Linked DNA regions of Homo sapiens: region 1 is linked to region 2. Evidence: promoter capture Hi-C in 16 types of primary human blood cells and fetal thymus (Javierre and others, 2016). All regions are on one chromosome and are shown on one strand. Each heading gives the region's core, a stretch centred on a gene start or on the middle of the fragment in contact. The rest is flanking DNA. Distances are from core to core; before and after follow the strand shown.

Region 1 (5,914 bases), core at 3,300-5,799, 140 kb before region 2:
GTGAAATTTCAGAGAGATGATTTCAACAATCATTCCTTTCAAAGGTAAAGATGGGGCTGAGCACAGTGGCTCACGCCTGTAATCCCAGCATTTTGGAAGGCCAAGGCGGGCAGATCACCTGAGGTTGGGAGTTCGAGACCAGCTTGACCAACATGGTGAAACCCCATCTCTACTAAAAATGCAAAATTAGCCGGGCGTGGTGGCGCATGCCTGTAATCCCAGCTACTTAGGAGGCTGAGGCAGGAGATTCGCTGGAACCCAGGAGGTGGAGGTTGCGGTGAGCCAAGATGGCACATTGCACTCCCGCCCCGGCAACAAGAGTGAGACTCCATCTCAAAAAAAAAAAAAAAGAAATGTTTTGTTTTTATATTATAAACCTAAAAATTTAGTCACTCAGTATTTTTTCATATTTAACAATACTGCTATCTTGTGACAAACTATCCATAACATAAAATTTGCCAATCTAACCTTTATTTTATTTTTTTTTTTTTGAGATGGAGTCTCACTCTATTGCCAGTCTGGAGTGCAGTGGTGTGATCTTAGCTCACTGCAACCTCCACCTCCTGGGTTCAAGCCATCCTCCTGCCTCAGCCTCCCGAGTAGCTGAGACTATAGGCGTATGCCACCACGCCCAGCTAATTTTTGTATTTTCAGTAGAGACAGGGTTTCACCATTGTCGGCCAGGATGATCTCAAAGTCTTGACCTTGTGATCTGCCCGCCTCAACCTCCCAAAGTACTGGGATTACAGGCATGAGCCACCGTGCCCAGCCTGCCTCTTTAGCCTAGGCTGGAGTGGAGTGGTGCCATCTGGGCTCACTTCAACCTCCATCTCCTTGGCCCAAGCCATCCTCCCACCTTAGCCTCCCAAGTAGCTGAGACTACAGGATCGCACCACCACGACCAGCCAAATTTTTACTGTAGAGACGGGGTTTCACCATGCTCCCCAGACTGGTCTCAAACTTGCGAGCTGAATCCATCCACCCACCTTACCAGGACCAGCCCATTCTAACCATTTGGAAGTATACAGTTCAGTAGCATTAAATACACTCACATTGTTATGCAACCATCACCACCATCCATCTCCAGAACTTTCTATGATCCCTAACTGAAACTCTATAACCATTGAACAACTCCCCTTTCCTCCTTCCCCCAGGCCCTGGCAACCACCATTCTATTCTATTTTTTGTCTCTGATGTTGCCTCCTCTAAGTCCTTTATACAAGGGGAATCATATGGTATTTGTTTTTTTGTTACTGGTTTATTCCAGGTAACCTAATGATCTCAAGGTTCACCTGATTGCAGCATGTGTCAGAATTTCCTTCCTTTTTAAGGTGAGCATGGTGGCTCATGCCCATAATCCCAGCACTTTGGGAGGCCAAGGCAAGTGGATGACCTGAGGCCAGGAGTTCAAAACCAGCCTGGCCAACATGGCAAAACCGTCTCTACTAAAAATACAAAATTAGCCAGGCGTGGTGGCGCATGCCTGTAATCCCAGCTACTCGGAAGGCTGAGGCAGGAGAATTGCTTGAACCCAGGAGGCTTGAGGTTGCGGTGAGCCGAGATCACGCCATTGCACTCCAGCCTGGGCAACAAGAATGAAACTCCATCTCTAAATAAATAAATAAATAAGCCAGACATGGTGGGGCACACCTGTAATCCCAGCTACTCAGGAGGTCGAGGCACAAGAATCGTGTGAACCTGGGAGGTGGAGGTTGCAGTGAGCCGACGTCTCGCCACTGTACTCTAGCCTGGGTGACAAAGAGAGACTCTGTCTGGAAAACAAAACAAAAAACCTTCTTTCCTTAAGAAGGTAGAATAATATTCCATCATATGGCCAGACCACATTTTGTTTATCCATTCATCTGTTGGCTATTTAGGTGTTTCCAACTTTTGACTTTAGTGAGTACACTGTAGCAGCATGGGTGTACAGCTCACCCAGGATATTTTGGAAGATTGTTGGCATTTATCTCCAAAAGTTTATTTATTTATTTATTTTTTGAGACGGGGGTCTCACTCTGTCATCCAGGCTTGAGTGCAGTGGTGCGATCTCAGCTCACTGCAAGCTCCGCCTCCTGGGTTCATGCCATTCTCCTGCCTCAGCCTCCTGGTAGCTGGGACTACAGGCGCCCGCCACCACGCCCGGCTAATTTTGTTTCTATTTTTAATAGAGACGGGGTTTCAGCATGTTGGCCAGGCTGGTCTTGAACTCCTGACCCTAGGTGATCCACCCTCCTCGGCCTCCCAAAAGTGCTGGGATTATAGGCCTGAGCCACCTCACCTGGCAGAGTGTGTTTTCCAGACTATGACAATTGCCTGGTAATTTAGCTTAAATTACATTCACCTGTTAGGATTACTGTGCGTACTGTTAATGTCAACTGAATCAAATCATCTTTCCATGACTGCTGCCTAACAAGAATCCATCTCAGCCAGCCCGGTGGCTCATGCCTGTAATCCCAGCCCTTTGGGAAGCCGAGGCGGGTGGATCACCTGAGGTCAGGAGTTTGAGACCACCTTGGCTAACATGGTGAAACCCCATCTCTACTAAAAATACAAAAATAAGCTGGGTGTGGTGGTACACGCCTGTAGTCCCAGCTACTCTGGAGGCTAAGGCAGGAGAATCTCTTGAACCTGGGAGACGGAGGTTGCAGTGAACCGAAATCATGCCACTGCACTCCAGCCTGGGCGACAGAGCAAGACTCAGTCTCATTAAAAAAAAAAAAAAAAAATCGACCTCATAAAATTGATCATCTCAAAAAGAAATTATTCTCATTTCACTTTAATGATTATCCAAGACCCCAGTATAAGAATTAACCCAGCAGATTTCGTTCACATTAATGGCCAGAGTATAATAACCCTTTAAATCTTTAAGAAACATGCTTCAGATTTCAAGTTTTGAGAGTCTTTCTTCTTCTTGTTCTAGTCTATCACTGAAGCTTTTGAGTTTACTTTGTATTTCATCCAGTGATTTCTTCAGCTTCAGAAGTGTCGTTAGGTTGTATTTAATAATATCACTGGAGTTGATAATTTTTTCCTGCAGTACGGTAACTCCTTCCATCTTTTTTCTCTGTTCTTTTCCAAATGATGCTTGTATTATGCCCACAACTGTATAATATGTATATTCAATTCTCTCTCCAAAATGTCTTCTGTTTCTTTTGGATGGGGATCTGCTGCTGGAGAATTACTGGGTTCCGTTGGAGGCGCCCCATTTCCTTGCTTTTTCATGTTTTCTGTGTCCTTCCGTTGAGATCTGTGCATCCTGTGAAAGTGGCTTCTTCCAAGTTTGTGAACTCGCTTTGTAGGGGAGGACTTCTTCCTGAAAATGTAGATAGGGTGTTGGTTAGCTGGGGCACTTTGGCTTTGATTTGGGGTAGTACTGTAGGCTCTGTATGATTTCTTGGGTGGCTTAGGGTGTGGTTATTAGTGGAGGCTGTGGTTGCTGGGGACTAGGCGGCCAGGTGGGCCAGTATTTGGGCCCCAGTGGTGGCCTGATCTTACCTATTCTTTAGTCCCAGAGCAGTGCATGCTGGCTCTGTTATTAGCGGGTTGTGGGGAGTGATTCGTGTGTCTCTAGGTGCCCTGCTCTAATGCTGGTAGTGGCAGCCACTGGCTGGGGGTGTGGCTGATCTCAGGCGTTGGGGCAGTGGGTGTGATGTGGGCAGGGTAGTTGCAGTTGGGGGGGCAACCCTCCGGAATCCAGGCGGTCCCTGCTGGTGTTGGTGGTGGCTGACCAGGTTGGGCGGGCACGCGAGTCCCCGGGCCTGTAGGTAGCCTGAGGTGTTATCCGCAGGCTGGGCCCCTGAACTCAGACACCGGGGAGGAGTGTTCAGCCGCCAACGGTGGCGGAAGAGGCAGAATAGTCACCAATCCCCAGGCCTCCGGCCCGCGTGCGCAAGTCCTCAGGAGGCAGAACCACCAGCGGACTGTCCTGAGGGCCCCGGGGTTCGGTCGCTGGCTAGGACGGACAGGGAAGGGCTGGTCCCCAGGAAAGCTCAGGCGGGGTAGAGCAGGCAAGCGGTTGGTTCGCGTCTGAGTCCCGCGGTGGCGGTGGGGTTATTAGTCTTTTCGGACGTATGAAAGCCTCTGGCCTCCCCGCTCCCTCCCTGGCCCTCAGCTGGGCGGCGGCGGCTGCAGCTGCAGCTGCTCAGGGCAGGGAAGCCCGTGGGCTCCACGTGGGCTCCTGCAACGCCGCTGGGGAATCTCTCGCCCGCTGCCCCCTACTCTGGAGGTCCACGAGGGTCAGGGGGCTGTGGAAGTCCGTGGGGGGACTGCGGAGCCCCCGGGGTCTCTCACTCACCCTTTCCCCGCGCGCAGGGGCTGCAGGCCGTCCTAGCCGATCCGATTTCTCCGCGCAGGCTGCCTGGGTGCCTCTGCTCCGCTCCTCGGGCTCCCAGTGGCTTCTCGGCTGAATCCCGCGTTCTCTTAGCCGATCGGCTGCAAGTGTGAAAACCTACCGGCGCCTTCGGTTCCCGCCAGAGGAGAGGCGCGTGCCGGCGGCATCCACCAGGCCATCTTGAGCCTATGGTCCTAGGTGGGAATGGGTCCCAAGTGCGCGAGTTACTCAAGGGCGTTCCCTGGAGGGTCCGGGTCGGCCCCGCCCTCCCCTTCCAGACTGGTCCGCAAGCTCCGTGTGCACACAGGTGTGTTTGCTAATATAAATAGACTATTTGGCCGGGCACGGTGGCTCACGCCTGTAATTCCAGCACTCTGGGAGGCCGAGGCGGGTGGATCACCTGAGGTAGGGAGTTCGAGACCAGCCTGGCCAACATGGGGAAACCCCGTCTCTACTAAAAATAAAAATATCAGCCGGGCGTGGTCGCGGGCGCCTGTAATCCCAGCTACTTGGGAGGCTGAGTAACGAGAATCGCTTGAACCCGGGAGGCGGATGTTGTAGTGAGCCAAGATCGCGCCACTGCACTCCTGCCTGGGCGACAAGAGCGAGACTCCATCTCACCAAAAAAAAAAAAATCCTTTACGTTGATGTATGCATTTTTGGATGCTTTTTTCTTTTAATTTTAATTTTTTTTTTTTTGAGATGGATTCTAACTCTGTCGCCCAGCCTGGAGTGCAGTGGCGAGATCTCGGCTCCTGCAAAGCAAAAACGCCGTCTCCAAAAAAAAAGAATGATGAATTAACATGCTAGGGTGTGCTTGGCAAAGTGTGGTTCACTCCTGCAATCACAGCACTTTGGGAGGCTGAGGCAGGCAGACCACTTTGAGTTCAGGAGTTCAAGACCAGACTAGGCAACATGGTGAAACCCTGTTTCTACAAAAAGGTTCAAAAATTAGCCAGGAGGCTGGGCATGGTGGCTCAGCCCCTGTAATCCCAGCACTCTGGGAGGCCCAGGCGGGAGGATCACCTGAGGTCAGGAGTTCAAGACCAGCCTGACCAACATTGGGAAACCCCATGTCTACTAGAAATACAAAAACTAGCTGGATGTGGTGGCGGGTGCCTGTAATCCCAGCTAATCTGGAGGCTGAGGCACGAACCTGGGAGGCGGAGGTTGCAGTGAGCCATGATCGTGCCATTGCACTCCAGCCTGAGCAACAAGAGCAAAGCTCCGACCAAAAAAAAAAAAAAAAAAAATTAGACAGGCCTCATGGCTCATGCCTGTAGTCCCAGCTACTTGGGAGACTGAGACTGGATAATTGCATGAGCTCGGAAAATGGAGGCTGCAGTGAAATTGCACTACTGCATTCCAGCCTGGGTACAGAAAGACCACATCTCTAAATAATAAATAAATAAATAATAAAATGCTACAGTGTTTGTCAGGTTTGCAGCGAGGAGGGCTGACATGTAGCTGTGTGGGCAATCTGTTAGAGAGAGTGGCTTTTCTTGACCATGACAATGTACTTCAGCTACATTCACCTGTTAGGATTACTGTGCCTACTGAATTCAGTACTGATCAGATTCAGTA
Region 2 (6,117 bases), core at 1,241-3,740:
ATGGGCATACAGGCATGCAGAAGAGATAAAAAAAAAAAACAAAAAAAAACAACCCAGCACACACACACGCGCGCGTGCACACACACCCACACCTGGAAGCAAACACAAACACAGCCACACAGACTGGAATAGAACATCACATAGTTAAATTGGAAACACTACCATGCCCATCCACTCTTGATCTGATTAAATACACAATTGCTTCCCCCCATTCCCTTTCTTTTTCTCCCCGCCCCGGCCATGTATCTCATTCATCTCCATACACACATAAACACACATGCACAAGCCATGTACATGTACACGCAGGTGTGTGTGCATACACAAGCCAACAGGCAAATACAGTTTCTCCAGGTGCCCGTCTTCTCTCATCTTGCAACTTGGTCTCTGATCCCCATCAGCCACTCAGTCAGCCCCCTTGGCTCCCTCCCTCCCCTCTCCCTTCTCTCTTGGATGGCTTCCCCTCCCCCTCTCCAGATGTCTGAGCCATCTCTCTCTGATTCATCCTCCTCAGGAAGGTAACGTGACCCCCTCCCCATCCCACTGCTCTCTGTATCCAGGCTGGGAAGATGAAGGGGACATGGGGGCGGGGAGAGGAAGGAGGGGAGGCCGTGGTTAGTTGTGCGTGGGGATGGGAGGCATCGCCTCGGGGTCTCCTACCCCCTCTTTTCCCTCCTTTCTTTGGAATCTCCACTGTCACCTTGGTTCTCAGTTTTTTTTTCTCCTTTAGCCTGCTCCTTCTACCTGTTCCAGATCCCTTCATTCCTTCCTCCTCCCCTGCCCCCATCTCTTCTCTCTTTTCTCCCTCTCCACTCCTCCCCATTTCTTTCCCCGCAGAGCTGATGGGCTTTCTTCTGGGAAAGTCGAGCCACTGATGGAAGCGAGAAGCCACTGCTGGTTATAGAGAGAAAGCACGTGAGTGTGTGTGTAGGGAGGGGGAGGTTAGAAGGAGGGTCAGTGCCAGGAAGAGGTGAGGAGGGGGGCGAGGACCGTTTCTGAAAGAGTCTCTAAGACCCTGACAGACAGCCCTGACCTTGGTTTCCAGAGTCTCAGGGTGCGGGTGCCCTGCGTGTGCCCACGAGCACCCCTATGTCCGCAGTTCGTGTGTGTCTGGCGTGTGTCATTGTCATTCCCCCCTTCCCTGCCCACGCCCCCGCACCGCTCTCTGCCAGCACCGCAGCCCCCTCCAGGCTTCCTCCCTCCCTCCCCTTCATTCCTGCAGTGGCTGCCCCCCTTGCCACCCTCTCCTCTCCCCTGCCCCCTCCCCATTTCCGTCCTCCCCCCCACCCCCGCCCACGGCTGGTCTCCCTTCACCGGACCCAGCTCTCTGATGGATTCTCTTTGCGCAAATCTGTGCGTCATCGCCCCCCACCCCCGGAACCTCTAGCTGTCCAAGCCCCCAGCCCCAACCTCTCTGGCAGGAGATACGGTCGAAGGGGCTGGTGGCAGAGAGGGGCTATCTCTGACGTTGCAGGTCCCCCTCCCATCGCGTTCAAACCTTCCCTTTAAGCGGTGGAGAGAGCTGGAGTTGAGTCACCCCCCCCCCACCTGCGCAACCCCCTCCCCACCTGCTCTGGTCTCGCCCTCCAAACGTCCTTGGGGGAGGGGAGCGGCAGGAGGGAAAGCGACTGGGGGAGTGTGGGAAGAGATGGGCCGAAGGGGGCACAGCGGGGGGCCTTGACACAAGCGGCAGTCAGGGGACAGAAGGACAGACACACCTTTTTCTCCAGACACAGCACGGATCGTGAAACAGACACGACCCAGAGGCACACACATCCTCATTCTTTCCCTTTTCTCTTCCGACTCGGACCCTTCCCGATGGGATTACCAAAACCGCAAGATCCACCCATCTGCCCCTGTCAGGGGGCTGCCACCCGCACTGCCGATTCGCGGACAGCGCCCGCAGGCGTGCAGATCTGTCCCTCTGCACTCAGGTTCACGCCGTCCTTGGGCGCGTGGTCTCGGGGTGGGGAACCCGGCCCCCTGGTCGGCTCTTGAATCTTTATCCTTCCCCTCCCCAGTATTGAGCTCCCACTGGTGCCCAGTCAGACGCTGGGACTACCCTTTTTCTATTCCACTCAGCAACGCGGGCTCCATCCAGCAGCTCCAAGTTGCTCTGCAACCCACCCTCCCGCCTTCCAGCGCCTCTGCATCCACCCTTCCATTCATTCTCCCATTCATTCATTCATCCTTTTCTCCTCGTCCCTCCTTCATTCATTCATAGCCCCCCGCCCTGCCCGCTTCAGCATTTCATTCATTCATTCATTCATTCATTTCCCGGAGCTCCGCTAGCGCACACCCCTTCAGCCGAAGGCCCCAGCGCGCAGGCGCAGGCCGGGAGAGGCAGGCACCCTCCAATCGTCGGGCGTCCTTCCTCCTCCGGGCGGCCGCCCGCTTCCCCATGAATGAACATTGACGTCAATGGGGCGGGGCGCGCCCACGTGACCCCGCGCGCTCCCCTTTATAAGGCGGTGGAGGCGCGGGCGCTGTCCAGCGTGCTGAAGCCGGAGCGAGCTAGCCGCCCGGAGCCGCGCCGACCCAGCTGAGCCCAGCCCACGGGACGCCAGACCTCGACCGTCGCTCCTACCCCGGCCACCGCTCGGAGCCGAGGCGGACGCGTCCCGATCTTCCCCTGTCCCCACCCTGCCCCGACCCTCCTCTCCACCTCTCGCGTCGTGACACCAGCTGGTAAATACTCCGCTGTTCGTCCCTCAAACCCTCGGCAGCCAGCCGTGGGCGTGAGGGAGGGTTCTCTCTCCTCTCGATGGGGGTGTTGCAAACACAGCGGGGAGCCCCCTGGTAAGGGTCCCCGGTAAACGGGGGAGTCGCAGCTTTTTCTCTTGCTGCTGAAGTCGCCCACGCACCATCCGGGGAGTCCTACGGGGAGGGAGCAGAGATTTTTTTTTCCCCCATATTGCTGCTGCTTAGTACGTGGGCGATGGCAGTGAGATGGCTCAGGGAAGGGGCCGAGGAGGCCCTGGGTAAGCGAGGGCTTCGGGGGTTATTTTCCCATTTACACGGCTCCAGAGATCGGCACAACATCTTCCTCCTTTGCTCCTAAACGTTCCTCTTCTGGGTAAGGTTTGGGGGATCAGGGAAGCCCCGGGTTTCCTGCTGAAAGGTGGGGGAAGGGAACGTAGACCTAGAGAGGGGAATTCTTACAGAAATCCTCTTTTTTTGGTCCCTTCTATTTTTCAGTCTCCGGCAGCCTCTTGGTCATGAAAGCCCTCAGATTGTCGGCTTCCGCCCTCTTCTGCCTTCTGCTGATCAACGGGTTAGGGGCAGCACCCCCTGGTCGCCCTGAGGCGCAGCCTCCTCCTCTCAGCTCTGAGCATAAAGAGCCGGTAGCCGGGGACGCAGTGCCCGGGCCAAAGGATGGCAGCGCCCCAGAGGTCCGAGGCGCTCGGAATTCCGAGCCGCAGGACGAGGGAGAGCTTTTCCAGGGCGTGGATCCCCGGGCGCTGGCCGCGGTGCTGCTGCAGGCACTCGACCGTCCCGCCTCACCCCCGGCACCAAGCGGCTCCCAGCAGGGGCCGGAGGAAGAAGCAGCTGAAGCTCTGCTGACCGAGACCGTGCGCAGCCAGACCCACAGCCTCCCGGCGCCGGAGAGCCCGGAGCCCGCGGCTCCGCCTCGCCCTCAGACTCCGGAGAATGGGCCCGAGGCGAGCGATCCCTCCGAGGAGCTCGAGGCGCTAGCGTCCCTGCTCCAGGAACTGCGAGATTTCAGTCCAAGTAGCGCCAAGCGCCAGCAGGAGACGGCGGCAGCAGAGACGGAAACCCGCACGCACACGCTGACCCGAGTGAATCTGGAGAGCCCGGGGCCAGAGCGCGTATGGCGCGCTTCCTGGGGAGAGTTCCAGGCGCGTGTCCCGGAGCGCGCGCCCCTGCCGCCCCCGGCCCCCTCTCAATTCCAGGCGCGTATGCCCGACAGCGGGCCCCTTCCCGAAACCCACAAGTTCGGGGAAGGAGTGTCCTCCCCCAAAACACACCTAGGCGAGGCATTGGCACCCCTGTCCAAGGCGTACCAAGGCGTGGCCGCCCCGTTCCCCAAGGCGCGCCGGCCGGAGAGCGCACTCCTGGGCGGCTCCGAGGCGGGCGAGCGCCTTCTCCAGCAAGGGCTGGCGCAGGTGGAGGCCGGGCGGCGGCAGGCGGAGGCCACGCGGCAGGCCGCGGCGCAGGAAGAGCGGCTGGCCGACCTCGCCTCGGACCTGCTGCTCCAGTATTTGCTGCAGGGCGGGGCCCGGCAGCGCGGCCTCGGGGGTCGGGGGCTGCAGGAGGCGGCGGAGGAGCGAGAGAGTGCAAGGGAGGAGGAGGAGGCGGAGCAGGAGAGACGCGGCGGGGAGGAGAGGGTGGGGGAAGAGGATGAGGAGGCGGCCGAGGCGGAGGCAGAGGCGGAGGAGGCGGAGAGGGCGCGGCAGAACGCGCTCCTGTTCGCGGAGGAGGAGGACGGGGAAGCCGGCGCCGAGGACAAGCGCTCCCAGGAGGAGACGCCGGGCCACCGGCGGAAGGAGGCCGAGGGGACAGAGGAGGGCGGGGAGGAGGAGGACGACGAGGAGATGGATCCGCAGACGATCGACAGCCTCATTGAGCTGTCCACCAAACTCCACCTGCCAGCGGACGACGTGGTCAGCATCATCGAGGAGGTGGAGGAGAAGCGGAAGCGGAAGAAGAACGCCCCTCCCGAGCCCGTGCCGCCCCCCCGTGCCGCCCCCGCCCCCACCCACGTCCGCTCCCCGCAGCCCCCGCCCCCCGCCCCCGCTCCCGCACGAGACGAGCTGCCGGACTGGAACGAGGTGCTCCCGCCCTGGGATCGGGAGGAGGACGAGGTGTACCCGCCAGGGCCGTACCACCCTTTCCCCAACTACATCCGGCCGCGGACACTGCAGCCGCCCTCGGCCTTGCGCCGCCGCCACTACCACCACGCCTTGCCGCCTTCGCGCCACTATCCCGGCCGGGAGGCCCAGGCGCGGCGCGCGCAGGAGGAGGCGGAGGCGGAGGAGCGCCGGCTGCAGGAGCAGGAGGAGCTGGAGAATTACATCGAGCACGTGCTGCTCCGGCGCCCGTGACTGCCCTTCCCGGTCCCGCCCCCGCGCGCCCCCGCCGCGCGCGCGCGCCGGCGCCCCCCTCCGTGTTGCCCGCTCCCCCTCGGTGTTTGCATGCGCCCCGGCCCTGCCCCTTGGCCCTGCCCCTGTCCCCGGGCTGCGTCGGGACCTGCCAGACCCCCCTCCCGGGTCCTGAGCCCGAACTCCCAGAGCTCACCCGCGGGTGACCGGGGGCCAGCCCAGGAGGGCGGGTGGTTTGTGCGAGTTCCCTTGCCACGCGGGGCCCCGGCCCCATCAAGTCCCTCTGGGGACGTCCCCGTCGGAAACCGGAAAAAGCAGTTCCAGTTAATTGTGTGAAGTGTGTCTGTCTCCAGCCCTTCGGGCCTCCCACGAGCCCCTCCAGCCTCTCCAAGTCGCTGTGAATTGACCCCTTCTTTCCTTTCTCTGTTGTAAATACCCCTCACGGAGGAAATAGTTTTGCTAAGAAATAAAAGTGACTATTTTATTAGGACTTTGTTCTCGGTTATTCACCCGTCCCCTTGGGCCTGTGTGGTCCTTCCCAAGGGGCGGTGAGGGAAGCGCCAGCCACAGTCCCCGTCTCCTCCTGCTTCCTGCCCCCAAACTAAGGCAAGGGGTAAGTGGGGAAAGTCCTCAAACTGTTTTTAGAGGAGAAGAATGTGGCTCGCACCCATTAAGAAACCCGAAATTCCACTTCCAGCTTGGGGGCTGGTGGTAAAGTCATCTTTCCCCAGGGCTTGACAGAGAGAGGCCCAGCGGAATGCAATAAAAGAGCCAATTGTCTGCGATCAGTCCAGCGACCTCTGGTTCAAAAGAAAAAGGCGACCCGCAGAAGGTGCCACAACTCTGGGTGCCAGTGGGCTCCTTTTTCCCAAGATCCTGGGGCCGCGCGGGTAATGCCGGAGTTTCCTGTGTTCACCCACCCACCTCCCTCCACTGATCCCTACATTCCTGGTCCTAGGTACTTTGCAAGAAATGCGGGGAGGAGGGAGTGGCAGCCACAGAGACATGCTGGCTAAAGCCACTTCTTAACTTTTTTTTTTTTTTTTTTTTTGAGACA

The links. Contacts are between HindIII fragments. The CHiCAGO score rates a contact against its expected background, and 5 or more counts as called.
Region 1: a fragment that was not itself captured here is called in contact with the fragment with the promoter of VGF in region 2 in 1 of 17 cell types (endothelial precursors); the score reaches 5.0 in endothelial precursors.

Annotation. Positions count from the first base shown.
Region 1 is chr7:101,301,409-101,307,322 of GRCh38, reverse strand. No RefSeq gene overlaps it. Among named protein-coding and RNA genes, the nearest start is that of EMSLR, 3.9 kb to the left of the region's middle. RefSeq lists enhancers at 3,812-4,514, 4,515-5,216. The HindIII fragment of the contact is 3,228 bases long and covers 2,936-5,914 here.
Region 2 is chr7:101,161,942-101,168,058 of GRCh38, reverse strand. It overlaps VGF (VGF nerve growth factor inducible), which reads left to right and starts at 2,490. Exons shown (of 2, transcript NM_003378.4): 1 at 2,490-2,685; 2 at 3,196-5,550. The coding sequence starts at 3,216. The coding sequence ends at 5,063. RefSeq lists silencers at 2,460-2,559, 4,322-4,461, 4,622-4,671, 5,232-5,321. The HindIII fragment of the contact is 10,392 bases long and covers 1-6,117 here.